Linked DNA regions of Homo sapiens: regions 1 and 2 are each linked to region 3. The links are contacts of gene promoters, found by promoter capture Hi-C in human tissues and cell types (Jung and others, 2019). All regions are on one chromosome and are shown on one strand. The core of a region is centred on a gene start or on the middle of the fragment in contact, and the rest is flanking DNA. Distances in the headings are between cores, read along the strand shown.

Region 1 (3,631 bases), core at 416-2,915, 42 kb after region 3:
CTCCATCATTTTGCATCAGAATTTTTACAAATACTTCCTAATGGCTCTCCCTATATTCACCTTTGCCACCCTCTTTCCAGGTCTATTCTCAACACAATAGCCAGAGTGATCCTTAGAAAATCTAACTAGAATGAATCATTTCTCTTCTCAAAACCCTCCAGTGGTTTGCCAAAATCATTACAGTGGTCTATAGCTGCCACATCTGTGGCCCCCTCCCCCTTATCTCACAGATGTTACCTTCCACTGCTCTTCTTCATTCAGCTCCTGGCACACTAGCCCCATTGCCATTCTCAGCAATGTTCCTGCTTCAGAGCCATTTACATCTGCAGGTCCTTCTGTCTGGAAGGCCCTTGCCCCACTGACATTCATGACTTGTTTCTCCAGCCCCTCAGTCTTTGCTCAAGTGGCACCTCCTCCATAAGACCTTCCTTGTCTGTACTGTTCTAAATCACAATTCCCAAGCCTTGGCTTTTATCTCTGCTTTATTTTCTCGGTATCATTTATCATCATCTGGTGTGCTATCTATTTTACTTATTTTATTAATTGTTTGCATCCTCCCAGAAGAATGTAAGCTTCTAGGAGGCAGGGATATTTGTATGTTTAGTTCACTGCTATATCATCAGTGCCCGGAAGAGTACCTGATGCATGGTAGGGACTAATTTAAAAAAAAAAAATTGAATGAATGACTCAATAGTTCTTAATCTTTTCTAGCTTACAGACTATGAACTATTTTAAAATTTGATGAAATCTATGGAAACTTTTTTTTAGAAAAAGTTATACCCACATAATTTGTACTAAAATTCTAAAGCTAATGTATCTTCTTAAATTTTTCCAAGGATGTTTTCCACACCCAAGAACTCCTGTTTAATCATACGTGGCCTAGAGGAAGAGGCAAAGTATAAAGCCAAACTCTACTATTGTCTGTTGGATGATTGCTACTGCTTAAATCATGGTGGCCTGCAGATTGAGGATAAAGGGCATAAGGAGAAAATAATTTTCCATTTTCACACAATTATTTATAAGAAAGATAAAACTGGAACTCATTTCTGATCACAATTTTTTTGAACCATTTAATTGAACTACAGGAATTCAGATCTGTTTATTTATTTTGTTTCGGGGACTTAATTTCGCTAGCATAATTTTACAAGGGGGAAAATCATGTTTGAACTCTTTTGTATTAGGCCATTCTTGCATTGCTTTAAAGAAACACCTGTGACTGTGTAATTTATAAGAAAAGAGGTTTAATTGGATCATGGTTCTGCAGGCTGTACAGGAAGCATGGCTCTGGCCTCTGCTTCTGGGAAGGCCCCAGGAAGCTTTTACTCATGGTAGAAGGTGAAGTGGGAGCAGGCAAGAGTAAAAGAGAGAGAGTGCCCGGGGAGAGGTGCCACACACTTTTAAATGACCAGATCTTGTGTGAACTCAGAGATCTCACTTATCACCATGGGGATGGCACAAGCCATTCATGAGGGACCTGCCTTCATGATCCGAACACCTTCCACCAGGTCCACCCTCCAACATTGGGGATTACAATTCAACATGAAATTGGGGTGGGGACAAATATCCAAACTGTATCACCTTTGTAGCTTTCTGCTTATACTCCTCAAGTTCTTCCATTTTCCTTTCTCTCAGCATCGGAGTGCCTGATTTTATTGATAAGGGGTTCAGTTTGATCATGATGCATTTCCAAAGCTCCCTTTCTCTCTTCCCAAGGTATTTATCTAAATTTCACAAACCTTAAAAAGGAAATGCCTACAAGATCATGTTTGAAAGAGGTTTATGTAAATGTCCAGGAATGAAATTATTTTAATTTCTGCCTTTCCAATTTAAAATTCTGTATTCATCTCCTAGGTAGGTACCCCCATGTGTTGAATAAAATGGCACATTTGTTGCTGAGAAGTTCTAAGACAGCAGAATTTTGCCCTCAGCACTTCTTAAGGAAAATGGTCTCTGTGAATTAAGGATTTATGGGTGACCATGCTTCCGCTAGAAAGGTTTGAAGATCTGGACTTACATGCTGGGATCCTGTCTTGATTAAAGGCTGCAGAGAAGCTGATACAGTAAATAGTCTTTGCTATCTGTGGACTCATATTTCCTGCTAGAGATAAACCAAGCTTTGTGCTATATAGCAATCAGCGAGCACCGCAGTGGCAGATTCAGCGCTCTGCCCCTACTAGGCTGACACCTTCAATTGGAAATGGCCTCAAAATCATGAATGTTCACTTCGGAGTTACAGGACGTGGGGATGAGTTGAATGTATTCCTCCATGTGAACACTTGGTCACTTTCCCCACATTACACTGTAAAACCAATTTTTGTGGTTTTATTTCTCTGAGTCCTCATTAATGCCATTTAACAGGAAATTCAGCTAAAGCCCCAAGACAAGTGTAGAGATTTCGAAGAAAACTTGCTTTGGACTGCTTTAGCAGAGTGCCTGTGTATTATATATGTGCCCACGAATGTCATCACCAGGGGAGAGGAGCAGTCACATGAACGATCCAACCTAATTCATTTATATTTGATTTTGAAATGCACAGCGCTCCTTAGACTCTCAGTAACTTTTCATGGAGGTGGGAGGGGTAATAGTAAGAGGAGCATGTGTTCTTTGAGCTCACATTGCATAATGGAAATAAGCAACAAACTGTATCTGACATTCCATGTGGATACTTAGCTGTTGACACTGGATTTAGGGTTGCTACTCAAAGTGTAGTTCCGGAGCAGTAGCATCAGAATACCCTAGAAGCTTTTTGGAAGGCAGTTTCTGGTGTCCACACCTCAGGATCTTTATTTTAACAAGATCCCCAGCTGATTCATTTGCACATTATCTTTTCCTTTTTCTTTTCTTTTCTTTTTTTTTTTCCAGAAGGGTTGTTTAAAGCCCTGTTTCCCAAACATGGCTGTGCATTGGGAGCACCTTGGGGGGAGTTTTTAAAATACTGATTGACACCTGGGTCCTGCAGTCAGAGTGCCCGATTTTATTGGTATGGGATTCAGTTCGATCATGATGGGTTTCCAAAGCTCCCCAGGTGGTTGTAAGGTACAACAGAGTTTGAGAGCCTCTAGTTCAGAGCAGAACCAGAATGCATCTCAGGCACATGTGAATGGTGAAGAGTTGACAATTTCTGAAACAGACTTTCAATTTGTGACCTGGCATTCTACCAGCCACAAATTTTTATTTGTGTTTTATCCACTCATATGTTAGCTGTCTTCTTAATCACCAGAGACAAGTAAGTTATCTATTTAGTTTACTGCTTTTTCTATTTTATCTGCTTATTTGAAAATTGATGGATAGCTTTGGTTTATATGGTTATTCTAGACCAGTCAAAAGATTTGCTTAATTGAATTTCATTTCCGAATATGTTTTCAGAGGGAAGGTTATGGTCTAAAGAATGTCATTTAAAGGTCTTACCAATGCTATGCAGTAGTTATTTCTCTTAAAGCAGCAAGAGCTGAGATTTCAAAAAGTTAAATAACTGCCTAAATTGCACAGCCGGTCATTGGAAAAGCCAGAGGTTGAACTTGGCATTTGAAAAGTCTTTATCTGATTCCTAAAGCCCGTACTTTTCTGATCCTCCATGCTGTTTCTGGAAAAACGTAGCTGTGTATGATTAACAGCAACTTTAAAAAGAGCA
Region 2 (3,658 bases), core at 342-2,841, 54 kb before region 3:
TCTTAGGGAATGAATCAAAGACACTGGCATACTGTTTACCAAGCTGTTAATAGTGTAATCATTGTAACCACTTATTGAGCATGTACTTTGTGCCTGGAACTTTCCTAAAGCTGGAAGATAGTTTTAACTTAATCTTCACCAACAAACTACTATTATTATATTAATTAAAAAAGAAGAAGACATTGAGGCACAGTGGGTTTGATAGGTGGCTCACGGTCACACAGTTGGTGCTTCGTGGATTAGGAACTCAAGTCCTGTTCTGCGGGATTCTAAGATACATATTTAAAACTATTACATTCAGCTGCCTGTCAACATCCTGGCATGTTACACATTGTTGTGATCCATATGCGTGCAATTTCATAGCCTGCTTTATTTCACTAAGCATCCCATGTTATGAAAAACCATAGCATACCTGTTATTAAAAATTCTTCATCATTATTATGTTTATAGCTTAATAATGTTACTTCTGATATCTTGCTTCATGTTATTTGTTTTTTATATTTTCTTAATGTTTTCTTTCTGTTCTTTTTCTATTATTTTCTGAAGCAATTTGCAACTTACATTTAACTGATTATGAGTCGAAAGAATTGAACCATGTTCCAGCCCCTCCTCCCATATATACAAGATGGAATCATTTGCTTCTTGTTTCTTTGCCTCGCCCCCTTTCTTAGGCCCTGTGTCTTTAACTTGAAGCTCAAAGCACTTTTTACAACTATATTATTTCTGACACGATACACACACACATTTGTAGATAGATACATGGATGGGGGGAGAGAGAGAGAGAGAGAGAGAGTGTGTGTGTGTGTGTGTGTGTGTGTGTGTCTTGAAATAAGTTGGTGACATGTTAATTTGAATGACTATAGGGAATCCACATGGAGATGCCCAGGAGATCAGCAGCTCAGGGGTCAAGTCTGGCTCACAGATATTCCTTTAGGAGTTATTAGCATATAACCAGGAATTATTAGCATATGATCCATATAAGTCTGCAGAGATGTTTCAGGGAGTAAACGCAAAGATAGAAGAGAAGCAGGCTGAGGATGGGAGTCCAGTGAAGACCAACATTTTAGAGACCTGTGATAGTGAATGAGAAAAAGGAGTCAGAGAAGTCAGAAGAAAATTAAGAGAAAGGGGCTCCATTCAATGGAGCAGAGGGTTCCAGGAAGGTGGAATGTTTTAGAGAACACACTTGGAGACTGCCCTCTGGATCTGATGCTATGGGCCAGTGGAGAGGTTAGTAAGTGTCATTCCATTGGGATAATGAGCATGCAGGACACAGGGCTGTGGCTGAGGAGAAAATAAAAGGTTCAGAGGCAGCCTGCTTCCTCTGTCTATGCTGAACTTCTAGTTCTGGCTCTAGCACTAACATTTAGTGACTTTGGGCAATACTTTATCTTCTGAACCTAAGTTTCCTAAGCTATACAATTTAGGGAAATGGATTACAGTTGTCTAAATACACTCCAATTCTAGTGCTATGCATACTATGATATTGGTAGGTATTAAACTCTCCCCAGACACCCAATACAAATACTTCAAGGGGAAAAATTAACTCTAGAGTAGTCATCAACTTATGGGCTAAATGAGTCTTAAGGGAGTCTTAAGGGAGGTCTGACCTTCTGAATATTGCTGTTGTTATCTGTACCATTTTTATACTTTAATTTTAGTCATGAGTGATTAGTGTACCCTTTTAATATCTCCTCAATGGTGTTTCTTCCCACACGTTTATGGACAATTTTAAGTAAGTCCTTAGTAGCACTGATGCAGGGCTTATTAGAACCCACATCTTGGTGTCCATCTAGTCCATGTGCCAACTACGTCCGGCACCCGGCATGTTCCTTAAACTTTACATATTGTTTTCTCCTTCTTTGAGATGCCATTTGTTAAATAATGATATTGAAAGCAATAATCAAATTGGTACCATATAGTGAGTTTGCTCAAATAATCAGTCTTGACATTCATTCTTGGTTTGGTGTTCTACCACTGCAATCACTGGCCTCTGTTCAGAGGCCCCCACCAACTTCCCAGTTTGAAAAATGGAAATCCATACGAAGAGGGGGACCTGAATGAAACCCTCTTAAACTGTGTAATGAAAAAGAAGGCTCTAGCAGGCTCCCATGGAACCAGTAAGGGTGATGACTCCCATTACATTATAAAGAAAGCCAACCAAACCAAAGATCCTAACTTTCTACAGGTGATATAACTTCTCCTAAGTCTAGCCACGATCTGATCCATTTGGCTCTGGCTCTCTTTGTTATTGGATGATTGCTCATTTCTGAATTGTTGGAAGGCTAGAAACAAAAATAGGAAAAAGAAAATGGCAGACAGCAAAACCTGCTTTGGGCCCCATATTAATCCAGTTACCTGAGAAGTACTACCTACAAATACTTAATTAAGAGTCATTGGAGCTAACGCCTTTTCCTCTTTCTGGTGGAGTCTAGCCAACTTTTACCAGAAAATTGCCTTCACATTTTGAAATCCCTGTTCTAGTAATAAACTTGTAGACAAAATGTCAGCGTTTTAAATGGCTGCAGTTTTAGTTATTTTAATTAATTTTCAGTCAAAAGAAGTTGATTTAATCCACATTATTGCTTGCAAATTGTTAAATTTTGTTTGTATAATAAACTTTTAAAACTTTCTAGAGTCAATTCCTCTGGGCAAGCTTCAGCATGTTGCTTAGACCTCTATTATAATACTTAAAACATCCTATTAGATATTACGGTAAGTTATTTACATCTCTCTGTGCCTCACTATTTTGGGAGCTCTTGAAGGAAAAGGATGAAGTCTTATTTATTTATTTACTGACCCTCTTAATATCTGGAACAGAACCTTGCACATAGTTACTGCTCAATAAATATTTTCTGGATTACTAAACTCTGAGGAGGGCTTAGAATTAAGAAGATAATTTAAATACTTACCCGTTTGGTTATATGCCTAATTCTTTATGCCTTTACTTTTCTGTTTAGTGGCACCATTTATTCCTTGCTTTGTGAGGTGTTAGCTAGAATCTTTGCTGTGTAATGCTTAGTTCTTTAGAAATTCAAAGTTCTTGGCTCAGCCTCTTGGGTTGTCCTGCCTTTTATAGATGCAGTAAATTTGATCACCATCAAGGGCTGTTAAACAACATGCAGTGATAAAAATAGTTCCCTTTGCTGACATTAGGTGTTTTCTAAAACAGCTCGATAAATTCTGGTCAACAGAAACTCTTTGTGATTTCAAAAGTCAGAAAGTGAACTGTTGACATGGATCTGGGCAGATGGAAAATAAATTGCCCTGTAGTTGCTCAGAAATATGTCCTAGGTGCTTTTTACCATGACTAGTGGTTGACTGTGCCTTCACTCGATGATGTTATAATAGAAGTTATGCAAGCTCACGAGGTTACAAGAGGACTTGTAGGCGGCGACTTGTTTGCAAGGTGATGTATCTGCAGGAGGCGTAATGGGTAGGGTGAGTGGGAGTGGTAAGTTGGTGAGTTTTGCAAAGAGCATTGATTTTAAATTTCATTTATCAGGTTCTTGGGAAGGGGGATGGTGATATTGGTAACTGCAACAAAGAAACCCTGGCTCTAAAGTAAGGCCAGGAAGCAGTAGTAGCAGATGTAGATCTGTTTTCCCCCTTACTTTCTACTCCAGTCCTTCCTGCATTTAGCAAACTTCACTCCTCA
Region 3 (4,017 bases), core at 1,422-3,921:
TTAAGACACAATAAAGCTAAAATGTCAAGTCTCTGGGAGAGATCCCCTTAAAGTTTCAGTCAAGGAGCATATCAGAGCACAGACAAGGAGACCCCAGCCTGGTGCCCGCCGGCCCGTCCCGGCTGCCCAGGCGTATTTGGTAGCGCATGGGTTGAGAGCCACTGGGACAATCACACCTCGCATTCCCTCGCGGGCTGCTGGTGGCAGGTACACGAGCCATACTCGTTGATGATCACCAGGGCTCCCTCAATGTGGTTCGGTTTGTAATCAACGTAGTATTCCTGGGCAGACATGGCAGCCATCTGATGCATGGTCTGTTTCTGCTTTTGCTTCCTGCGCTGCGTGACAAAGCACTGTCTGAGCTGCCTGAGGCTGGCTGGGAAACACTTCCAGGACACGTAGAGCACCAGGACCACGATGAGGAAGGAGAAGATGAGGGCCATGGTGCCCGTGACCACCTTGTGGATCTGCACGGCGTTCTCGGCGTGCTCGCCGCCTGGAAGAGCCACGGTGGCAGGCTCGAATGTGCCGTCGTGCTGCCCCTCCCCGCCGTCCGCGAGCGTGGTGGCCGAGCTGGCAGGGGGCCCCAGATCACTGCGGTTGGTGACGGCCGAGAGCAGGTGGCCGCTGGTGGGCTCGGCCCCATCCTCGCACAGGTGGAAGGCGTACACGGCGTCCAGGACGTCCTCGCCCTGTGCGTACTCCGGGCTGGCGCACTGCAAGTTGCCATCGTAGCGCCCCTGGAAGTTGTTGAGCCACGAGGCTAGGGCACACACGTTGCGCCCGCAATCCCACAGGTTCCCGGCCAGGGTGATGCTTGTCAGGGACTTCCAAGAGTTGAGGATCCGGGGCTCGATGTAGGTGAGGCGGTTGGAGTCCAGCTGCAGGGACTGCAGGTGCGGCACGGTCTCGAACACATGGGGCTCCATGTACTCGATCTCGTTGCCCGACAAGTCCATTTTCTCCAGGTTCCAAACCCAGTCCAGCGAGCTGACCACAATGGCCACCTTGTTCCTCCGCAGGCAGAGCGAGTGCAGGGAGATGAGGCGCGGGAAGTGGGCGAAGTTCACCTTGACCAAGTCGTTGTGCTCGAGGTGCAGCTCGGTGAGCTTAAACAAGCCGGCGAAAGAGTTGCGCGCCAGACTCTTGAGCTGATTGTATCCGATGTCGAGAAACTTGAGGCTGCGGCAGTCCTGGAAGATGCGCACGGGCACAAACTGGATGGCGTTGGCCCGCATATGCAGCGTGGTGAGCTTCCGCAGCCCGTGGAAGAGGTCGGGCGCGAGCGCCTGCAGCTTGTTGTACGAGAGGTCCACGCTGCGCAGGTTGGGCATGGGCCGGAAGGTGGTGTTGGGCAGTTGGGTGATCTGGTTGGAACTCAGCGTGAGTTCCTTAACTCGGCGCAGTTTCTGAAAGGCGTCCCCCTGCACGGAGCAGATGTGATTGTGATCCAGATAGAGCCACGTGAGCTGCATTAACCCCGTGAACTGGCCGGCGCGCAGCTCCGAGAGGCTGTTGTAGCGCAGGGACAAGCCCAGCAGGCCGGACAGGTTGTGGGGCGCCTCGGTGAGGTTGAGCGCCTCGCAGTACAGCAGCCGCCCCTCGCACCGGCACAGCTGCGGGCACCCGCTGGGGGCGGCGGGCAGCATCTGAAAGCAGGCCCCCAGCAGACACAAGACCACCCCCGAGGGCCTCCTCAGCAGCCAGTATAGACAGAGACCGAGCAGCAGGAAATCCATTAGCGAGAATCTTTCCAGAGAGACTGGAGAATGTCCATTGGAAGCGCTCGGTCAGAAATCTACATCATATTTTATTCCGAGGGAGGGGAAGCGGGGGAGGGGGAGAAAAGGGCAAAAAATCAAATAAATACATAGAAATAAAGAAGGACCCCCCTCCCCAAAAACCACACGTTCACCTCTAAGCATGCAGAAAGCTGGGCAGCATAGAAAGTTCACAGCCACGGAAAGATCAAAGAGATGGTGATTTGGTCCATGTTAGATGCTGCAGCAAAGAAAAGGGAGGAAAAAAAAAATCTTCGGGAAAGAATTTAATTAAAAAGTGTCTTACCCACCCTTTTCCAGAGAGTGACAACCTCCATTCAGCTGCTCCCTTTGTGTGCAGGCTAATTATATGCAGGGCGAGAGAAGACCCCTCTGTGTTTCCGAGGCAGCCCCGGTCCGCGGCCGGCGGATCTGGCAGGCGCACAATGTCTCACTTTGCTGCTCGGCTCGGGGCTGCAAGGGCGGCCGGCAAGGCGGGGAGGCGACTTCTAGGACCCGCAAGTTTCCCAACTACGTGCCGGAGCCCGAGCTTCGCCTTCCTGCCGCCTTCCTTTCCCTCTGCAGTTCGGACTGTGACGTTGTGGGGGGAAAAAACTCCAAACTCGGGGCTCGCGACTCCCCAGGATCTGACAGTCTGGTTAATGTCCGTCATTGGAAACGACCACTGACCGGCGCCACCTTTTACTCCGCGGAAACAGCCTGCCATTCGCGCCCCGGGCAGCTGCAGAGAGCGGGCTCACTCATGCTTTGCGGGCGGCGGGCGGCGGGCGGCGGGCGGTGGGGAGGTGCGGACGGCGGCGCGGGGAGCGGCGAGCGGCGCCCGGGCTCCTTCCCTCCACCAGGCAGTGTGCGGCGCGAGCTTGCACAGGCACCTACTGCTCACTGAGTGTCGTAAGCTGCTCACGATTGTGCGTCTTCCCCGAGCACCTCAGACATGGGCAGATTGAAAAGGGGTGGGCATAAAACCAACATTTTACCGAACCACTAAAGTAATATATGTTTTTTGATGAAACGGAAAACACTTTCAGCTTTTTTGTCCATATTTCAAAAAAAAAAAAAAAAAAAAAAAGGAGGGGGGAGGGAGGTGGAGGTAGGGGTAGCATCATCCACGACAAGATATTTCCAAGTGGGAAACTGAAATGTTCTGTGCTCTCCCCCTTGCCTTTTGGGGATATATTCTTTTCCCCTTTAAAACTGTCTACGTGTAAGAGATACGTAGGAATCTGTAGAGAAATCAACGTTTGGACCTTTGCTTTAGAAAAGCAACTTGAGAGAAGACACAGGAAGGCAATGATTTGGGGCTTGGCTAAGATTTTTGGGGTTTTTTCCCCCTCTTGCGGGTACTGGAATTCTGCAGTCAGCCAGCCCTTTTTTGAGGTGGAGAGGGGAAATGCTTTCCAAACCCACCTAGTTTGGGAAGCCATCCAAGTCCCGGTGGTGTGAGATCCAGTGTGGCAAAAAGGTATGTCTGTGTGCAGGGAGACTTGACTGAGATCCCTCCGGGGCTTCATCAGGCTCCACAGATACATATGGGGTACAGAGTGGATTAAAGAACGATTGTACTGTCTGACATGGGGAGGGCTTACCCTGACTTGTGCTGTTCATGGTGATTACTGGGCCCTGCAGTGCACCCCACTCCAAGAGAGTGTGAATGTGTAGGGACGTGATAGTTTAAGCCATAATGAAGCCTACCCGTCTCCATACACACATCCTAATTAATCTTTGAGACTGCACTAAGTTGTGCCACTTTTTCCTCTGAGTATGACGAGAAGCCTTTGCCTCATTATTTCTATTCATAATCATTTATAGATAGGAGTCCTTACAATGAGCTCTCCCCCCACCTCCCCACACACACACCTTGTGCCTACTGGTCTGTAGAGGGTCTGCCCTGGGGAGGGTCAGTTGGTCATCTGTTTAAACAAAGTCCTCCAAGATGGCTGAGAAAGCCTGCGGGAAGTGAGTGTGGGCAAGCCTTCCTTCTTGACAAAGATGCCCAGGGAGATGGTAGGGAGAGTCAAATGTGAGTCTCCAGCTCCACTGTTTGAATTCCCATCGTTTCTGCCTCTAAGGAAGTCAAAATCAGTAGGCATTATATGTAGTGGCACTTACTTTGATAGGAATGAGGGTGGATTACCAGAGCCAGGGTAGATAGACTGGACAAGTAACTGGATTGGTCCTTAGCATCTAAGCTGAAGAGGCCAACCAATGGAATCAAAGTCACCAAAGACTGGTGGTA

Evidence for each region. Contacts are between HindIII fragments. The study calls those that stand out against the background at their distance.
Region 1: a contact is called between a fragment that was not itself captured here and the fragment with the promoter of LRRTM1 in region 3, in 2 of the 25 tissues and cell types used here (ovary and spleen).
Region 2: a fragment that was not itself captured here is called in contact with the fragment with the promoter of LRRTM1 in region 3 in 2 of the 25 tissues and cell types used here (spleen and thymus).

The regions. Positions count from the first base shown.
Region 1 is chr2:80,344,997-80,348,627 of GRCh38, forward strand. The region is part of intron 7 of CTNNA2 (catenin alpha 2); the gene reads left to right. All of the region lies in intron 2 of LOC105374824 (a long non-coding RNA gene), which reads right to left. Among named protein-coding and RNA genes, the nearest start is that of LRRTM1, 42 kb to the left of the region's middle. The HindIII fragment of the contact is 3,351 bases long and covers 1-3,341 here.
Region 2 is chr2:80,249,413-80,253,070 of GRCh38, forward strand. All of the region lies in intron 7 of CTNNA2 (catenin alpha 2), which reads left to right. Among named protein-coding and RNA genes, the nearest start is that of LRRTM1, 54 kb to the right of the region's middle. The HindIII fragment of the contact is 4,389 bases long and covers 1-3,658 here.
Region 3 is chr2:80,302,081-80,306,097 of GRCh38, forward strand. LRRTM1 (leucine rich repeat transmembrane neuronal 1) reads right to left here and starts at 2,672. Exons shown (of 2, transcript NM_178839.5): 1 at 2,072-2,672; 2 at 1-1,798. The coding sequence starts at 1,739. The coding sequence ends at 171. All of the region lies in intron 7 of CTNNA2 (catenin alpha 2), which reads left to right. RefSeq lists an enhancer at 1,489-2,114. The HindIII fragment of the contact is 15,461 bases long and covers 1-4,017 here.